2 separate regions of the Homo sapiens genome follow, and region 1 is linked to region 2. Evidence: promoter capture Hi-C in human tissues and cell types (Jung and others, 2019). All regions are on one chromosome and are shown on one strand. Each heading gives the region's core, a stretch centred on a gene start or on the middle of the fragment in contact. The rest is flanking DNA. Distances are from core to core; before and after follow the strand shown. Region 1 overlaps ABR (ABR activator of RhoGEF and GTPase). Region 2 holds the start of YWHAE (tyrosine 3-monooxygenase/tryptophan 5-monooxygenase activation protein epsilon).

The links. The method cuts DNA at HindIII sites, captures the fragments that hold promoters and counts their contacts. A contact is called where the count stands out against the background at its distance.
Region 1: a fragment that was not itself captured here is called in contact with the fragment with the promoter of YWHAE in region 2 in 1 of the 25 tissues and cell types used here (pancreas).

The regions. Positions count from the first base shown.
Region 1 is chr17:1,056,134-1,059,539 of GRCh38, reverse strand. It overlaps ABR (ABR activator of RhoGEF and GTPase), which reads left to right. Exons shown (of 23, transcript NM_021962.5): 11 at 673-795; 12 at 1,495-1,570; 13 at 2,438-2,542. Among named protein-coding and RNA genes, the nearest start is that of MIR3183, 35 kb to the right of the region's middle. The HindIII fragment of the contact is 4,335 bases long and covers 1-3,406 here.
Region 2 is chr17:1,398,457-1,402,005 of GRCh38, reverse strand. YWHAE (tyrosine 3-monooxygenase/tryptophan 5-monooxygenase activation protein epsilon) reads left to right here and starts at 1,784. Exons shown (of 6, transcript NM_006761.5): 1 at 1,784-1,959. The coding sequence starts at 1,896. RefSeq lists enhancers at 1-343, 1,286-1,923, 1,924-2,561, 2,562-3,199. The HindIII fragment of the contact is 19,322 bases long and covers 1-3,549 here.

The sequences.
Region 1 (3,406 bases), core at 907-3,406, 340 kb after region 2:
GCAGGTGGGGCTTCAGGCTGAAAGGTGTCTGAGGTTTCTTTAAGCAGGTGTCTCTGTTGTACCCAGGATTTAATGTGTAGAGGCAGCAGAGTGACAGTACAGAGAGGTTAATACTACTGTAATATTTGTATTATTTAGGGTTCTCAAGAGAAGGAGGCATAGCACCCCGCCCAGGGCCACGTGGAGAGGTGCCAGCTTTGAACAGGAGGCAGGAATGGAAAGAAAGTGTGGCCACAGCTTTTCTGTGGAGAAACAGGGCAGGGAAAGGGCTTGGCACCAGCTGGCTTCCGTTATGTCGGCAGCCCTGGGCTAGAGGAGTGGTCTCTGGTGACCTGGTCCCTGGCCCTGGGTGACGTGGGGCAGAGGAGATGCTGGCTTGGCGAGTGAGCGTCAGGTAGAGAAGGTGGTTGGGGACATGGGCTCTGGATCAGTGGGTGTGTGTATGAAAGCTGTGCTCATAGGGCATCACTGACAGGCTTAGGAATTAGTGAGCCCTGTGGGGGAGCAGTTTCTCACCCAGCTACCCGCCTCTCCTGCCACAAGATGTCAAAACATCACGAAATACGGAAAATGTAAAGAGCATGTTAACACACAGTGGAGTGTCGTGCTTAGTGCTGCTCGTGAGAAAGGCCCGAGTGTGAGGGGAACCCTCTGTGTCCCCATCTCCTGCAGAAAGCCAACAAAGGCCAGAGCCGGGCCATCGAGCGCCTGAAGAAGAAGATGTTTGAGAATGAGTTCCTGCTGCTGCTCAACTCCCCCACAATCCCGTTCAGGATCCACAATCGGAATGGAAAGGTCAGGATGGGTGGGGGTGGGACCAAGACAGCCCCTTCCTTAGTCCAGAGCAGCCCACTCTGTGGCTCCTGGCCCTGACCTGTACGAACCGGAAACTCAGGCCCCCTCTTCCTGAGGAGGCTGCCATGGCTCCAGCTGTTGACTCGCTCTCCCCTCTCGTGTGGAATGAGTGCCCTCTGCTGGCCGTCCCTGGCACAGCCGCTCCTGTCACCTTGGCTTCCCAGGAAGGAGCTCCCCCTTCACCCACCCACCCCCAGCTGCCTCCTCCTGCAAGGTCAGCTGTGCCTGGATAAGGAGGAGCTTTGGGCCGGGCACAGTGGCTCATGCCTGTCATCCCAGCACTTTGGGAGGCTGAGGCAGGCGAATCACCTGAGGTCAAGAGTTTGAGACCAGCCTGGCCAACATGGCAAAACTCTGTCTCTACTAAAAACACAAAAATTAGCCGGGCGTGGTGGTGGGCACCTGTAATCCCAGCTACTCAGGAGGCTGAGGCAGGAGATTGGCGTGAACCCGGGAGGTGGAGGTTGCAGTGAGCCGAGATTTTGCCATTGCACTAGAGCCTGGGCAACAAGAGCGAGACTCTGTCTCAAAAAAAAAAAAAAAAAAAAGATAAAAGGAGCTTTGTTGGGGTCCCCAGGATCTGGGAGTACGCTTTGCCTGACTGTGGTCACCCACTTTATGCTTATCTCCTCTCTTCAGAGTTACCTGTTCCTACTGTCCTCGGACTACGAGAGGTCAGAGTGGAGAGAAGCAATTCAGAAACTACAGAAGAAGGGTAAATTCCTGCCTCTTCCACGCTCCCCAATGATGTCCGTGGCATTGATGGGCCTTTTGTATTTCTAAGCGTTTCATGTCCAGTATCACGTCTTTGGCCCTCGCAGTCACCCTCAGAGGTGCCAGGGTGAGCGTTTAAGGATGTTACGGATTAATTGAGACCCAAAGAATCTAACTGATTGGCTGAAAGACATGATGATTTAGTCCTGGGACTGGACCCAGAGCCCAGCCTGGGCTTTCTCTCTCTCTCTACCTCTCTCTCTCTCTCACACACACACACACAGAGACACACACACACACACACACACACACATACACACATACACAGAGGCTGGGTACGGTGGCTTACGCCTGTAATCCCAGTCAGGAGTTTGAGATCAGCCTGGGCAACGTGGTGAAACCCCGTCTCTACTAAAAACACAAAAATTAGCCAGGTGTGGTGGTGGGCACCTGTAATCCCAGCTACTCAGGAGGCTGAAGCAGGAGAATCCCTTGAACCTGAGAGGCGGAGGTTGCAGTGAGCTGAGATCACAGCACTGCACTCCAGCCTGGGCGACAGAGTGAGACTCCGTTTAAAAAAAAAACGAAAACAAAACGCATACACCACACACACACACACACACACACACACACACACACACACACACACACACACACACACAAACCTCTTCAGTTAGATTCTCCTACTCTGACCCCTCTCGCAGCATCTACACCAGTCCTGCTGTGTCCACAAATCCTTCCCCCTCCCTCGCAAGGACCAAGTCTGCCCCAGGGATTAAGCCGTCTTCCTGCAGCAGCCCCCAGGGAAGAGCAGCCGGTCCTGGTGGACCAGTGCCCACGCTCCCTTCTCTCTCGGCTCTCCCTCCAGATCTCCAGGCCTTTGTCCTGAGCTCAGTGGAGCTCCAGGTGCTCACAGGATCCTGTTTCAAGCTTAGGACTGTACACAACATTCCTGTCACCAGCAATAAAGACGGTAAGCTCGGGAACCAGAGGTGGCCCAACCGGCAGGTCCCAGCCCTCAGAGCGTGGCCGGCTTCCCGTAAGGACTCAGACAGACATGTGGCTGTAAATGGCTGATCCCTGCTCGGCTGTGCTGAGACTGTTGAGTGGCCAGGACACAGCTTGGGTAGGGGTGACTGTCTACTGAGTTCCCAGATGACCCCAGCTTTTCCTTGGGCCCCTCTGTCTGGCTTGGGAGAACTGGCACCCTGGTGCACTGAGATTGTGCTGTTAATATATTCATGAGAGAGCAGACCCGGTAGATAAAATGGTGTATGGGAAATGAGGCTGGAAGTTTCCAGGGACCAGCTCTTGAAAGGCCTTGAATCCCAAGCAAGGGAGTTTGGAATTCATGCTGTAAGCCCGGGAGTCTGGGGGGGTTTTGAGCAGTGGGGAGCTGTGATCAGGGCTGGGAACTGACCGGAGTGGGTGTATTCTAGCTGCCTGTGTGCTGGGAAAGGGTCCACTTTGTGAACGGGGTCCTGAAGGCAAGCTTTCCTCGACATAAATCATTAGCAGAATGATTTATCATATTGGTCAGTTTTCAGTGCCAGGATAGGCAGGATTTGGAGGGAGAGACAGTACCCATGGGGAATGGTACTAAGTCCCTGGGCCAGGATGGTGGGTGTGCTGGACCCCCCCAGGCTGAGTGGAGGAGAGAAGGACCCCCTAGCCCTACCCCGGGCAGCTCACATATAAGGCCGCCGTGGCCTTCGGAAACTTTTTCATCTGGCCACCAGGTGGTGATGTTGGACCAAGACTCAGCTGAGTCTCATACCCCGTCTGCCTCCCGCCGGCCTGGGGTGGAGGCTGAGGGGATCCGCTGACCACCCTCTGC
Region 2 (3,549 bases), core at 535-3,034:
TGAAACCCCGTCTCTATTAAAAATACAAAAAATTGGCCGGGTGTGGTGGCATGTGCCCGTAGTCTCAGCTACTTGGGAGGCTGAAGCAGGAGAATTGCTTCAACCCGGGAGGTGGAGGTTGCAGTGAGCCGAGATCACGACACTGCACTCCAGCCTGGGCAACAGAGCGAGATGCCGACTCAAATAAAAAAAAAAAAAAACGTTTTTATAGACATGGAGTCTCGCTATGTTGCCCAGGCTGGGCTCAAGTCATCCTTCCGCATGGGCCTCCCAAGCGCCAGAAGCTGAAGCAATGTTCACTGAGTTATTCCTGCCTCCACAATCTTTATTTGATCTTGGTCCAACTCTTCTGTACCATGTACTCCACACCACCCTCATCTAACAAATTCCCTGCTCCTATTCATAGTGGGCCTAGGGAGGGAAAAAGGTTAAACAGGAGAAGACAAAGATCAGTGTGAGGGGAAAGTTGAGGCGTGAAAACTGGAGCTCCCCTGTCCCTGACAACTGTAACAGGGCCCAGTTCGTTTTTTTTCTTTTTCTTTGTTTTGAGACAGAGTTGTGCTCTTGTTGCCCAGGCTGGAGTGCAATGGTGTGCTCTCGGTTCACTGCACCCTCCCACTCCCGGGTTCAAGCGATTCTCCTGCCTCAGCCTCTGGAGTAGCTGGGATTACAGGCATGCACCACCACGCCCAGCTAATTTTTGTATATATATATAATTTTTCTTTTGAAACACAGTCTCACACTGTCGCCTGGGCTGGAGTGCAATGGGAGGATCTCGGCTCACTGTAACCTCCGCCTCCCGGGTTCAAGAGATTCTCCTGCCTCAGCCTCCTGAGTAGCTGGGATGACAGGCATGCACCACCATGCCAAGCTAATTTTTTGTATTTTTAGTAGAGACGGGGTTTCACTATATTGGCCAGGCTGGTCTCGAACTCCTGACCTTGTGATCCTCCCGCCTTGGCCTCCCAAAGTGCTGGGATGACAGGCATGAGCCGCCGCGCCCGGCCAGGGCCCGGTTCGTTACCCTGAGTCTAAAAGTGTCTGAAAAAGGCCCATGACCAGGCTTGGCCGAGAAAACTAGGACGTGGGCTGGGCGCGGTGGCTCACCCCTGGAATCCCAGCGCTTTGGGAGGCCGAGGGGGGGCGGATCATCTGAGGTCGGGAGTTCGAGACCAGCCTGGCCAACATGGTGAAACCCCATCTCTATTAAAAATACAAAAGCTGGGGGTGGTGGCGGGGGCCTGAAATCCCAGCTACTCGAGAGGCTGAGGCAGCAGAATCACTTGAACCCGGGAAGGCGGACGTTGTGGTAACCCGAGATCGCACCACTGCACTCCAGCCTGGGGAACAAGAGGGAAACTCCGTCTCAAAAAGAAAAAAGAAAAAAGAAAAAAGAAAAGAAAACCAGGGCGCGGTAGTGACAGCCTCAGATTTCGGGAAAGAAGACCTGCCATGACAGAAACCGTTACAGCCTCCGTCGTTCTTTTCCGCAGGTCGGGCCTCGGGCCCCGGTCTGACCCAGGTCTCTCGCTGGCTTTTTTCAGGAGCAGTCCCGGCCGGCCCCGCCTCAGCCCTTCTCGTTCCCCGGGGGCCGCTCCCTTTCGGCAGTCGCAGTTCCCGCCTCTGGGCTCCGGCGCCCGCTGAGCCGACAGAGGAGAGGCGTCTCGTGCGCTCGTTCCAGCCGCTTCGGGCGCCGAGTTCCAGGACCCGCCCCCCGCGCCAGTTGCCAGGGAGCGGTTGCCATAGAGCTGAGCAGTTGTCCGCGTGCGCAGGCGGAAGTCCCGGATTGAGGCGCCGCCATTTTTGCTGCCCGGACGCGGAGCGAGAGGCTGAGAGAGTCGGAGACACTATCCGCTTCCATCCGTCGCGCAGACCCTGCCGGAGCCGCTGCCGCTATGGATGATCGAGAGGATCTGGTGTACCAGGCGAAGCTGGCCGAGCAGGCTGAGCGATACGACGGTGAGTTGGGGGGGCAACGGGGGGCTGGAATTCTCGGACCCTCTGCCGCCGCCCACAGAGGCCGGGAACAGGAGACAAAATGGCGGCATCGTCTGCGAGCCTGGCCCGGGGGCTTGGGTTCGGGAAGCAGGAAATGGCCTGGGAGCTCCCGGGGCGATGGGAGGCTCTATGCCCTGGAATGTGACCCCTTCGCCGTCCTTAACTGCAAACAACTCGCGGGCCGGGAGGCCGGGGCGACGGGGTGGAGGAGTTGGTTGTAAAATGGCGGCTGGGGGGAGGGCGAGTCCCGGGGCGGGGGAGGGGGAGGAGATGGCGGGTGCTGTCTCCGAACGAGCCACCCTCATGGGAGCTTCTGGGACGGCCTTGGGATGTGGAGAACAATTGGGTGGGGTGACGGGGGAAGCAGCACCCGCCACATGGGAGAGAGCGAAGACCGGGAGCTGTAGCGCGGGCGCCTTTCAGGGAAATATGGCGGGTGGGGGCGGTGGCTTTTCCCCGGAGGCCCCGTGTGGGGCGGCGGCCGTGGAGTCTCACAAAGGAGGACCTTTGAGAGCGATGGGCTTCCTCAGGCCTGAGGTGGGGGACAGTCGTGGATGATGGTGGGGGGAGAGGGGTGAGTGGGAATCACTGCAGTTCGTCTTCGGGCGGTGGCAGGCTCCCATGCTGCGATCGGGTTTCTTTCCCGTAGGCCGGCACCTCGTAGTGAGGGGTTTCGGGGCTTTTCCTCCTCGTCGTCTTCTGGGGAGGCCCAGAAAATCCTCACTCCCTCCCTTTCCTCAGACTTAAAACAGGAGATCTCGAAGTTCCTGTAACCTTTCTCTGGCTCCATCACCCGTGGGTTCTGATGGATAGAACCAGGAGGCCACGACTCTGAGAGTTCGAGCCTTTGTAGAGCCCGAGCCTCCGTCCCCCCGTTTGTAAAAACGATGACTTTACAGTTTGTGCGCACCGTGATGACAAATGGGAAGACCTGTTGAAATAAAGTTATTTCCAATAGTGTTCAGTAACTGTATTTTGGTTGACTCTGCAGGCTCGGAATGCTGGTCTGTACTTCGTGGGGGATCTTAACCTATTCCAGGCGCTCGGCTGAGGCTGGGTTTTTTGAGTTATGAAGGTTGAAGATCCTGTTGCTTTCTTTTTTTCCGTTTTAAATAAATGGGTTTATGTAGAAATATTAGTAGGTCCTCTTTGTTCGTTGTTCTTTTGCCCCTAATGGGTTCTCCAGTCCTTTTTCAGAACTTCATCGAATGTCCATTGTGTCTGTCCAGTCATTGTCAGGAAGTTTATTCTTAATCCTCTCTCCCAGTCCACCTTTTGGACCACCTTTTGAAATACCCACACATTTATAATTGTGCGATACTGTAGTATTAAACGAAAGGTCATGTCTGTGGGTCCTGTGGTTTTAATGCTTTTGCGTGGTAGGGTGGGGTGAGACATGGTTGGAATCAAGTATCTTTGATTCTTAGATTTTTTTCCTAATTAAAATACCTATATTTCAAAATGTTAGGGCCCTTGCTTTCCTCGAAATGCGGATTTAGTCATGTGAATAACCTCAGGGTTAGTCCCCCTTATCATCAGAAATAAGATTCA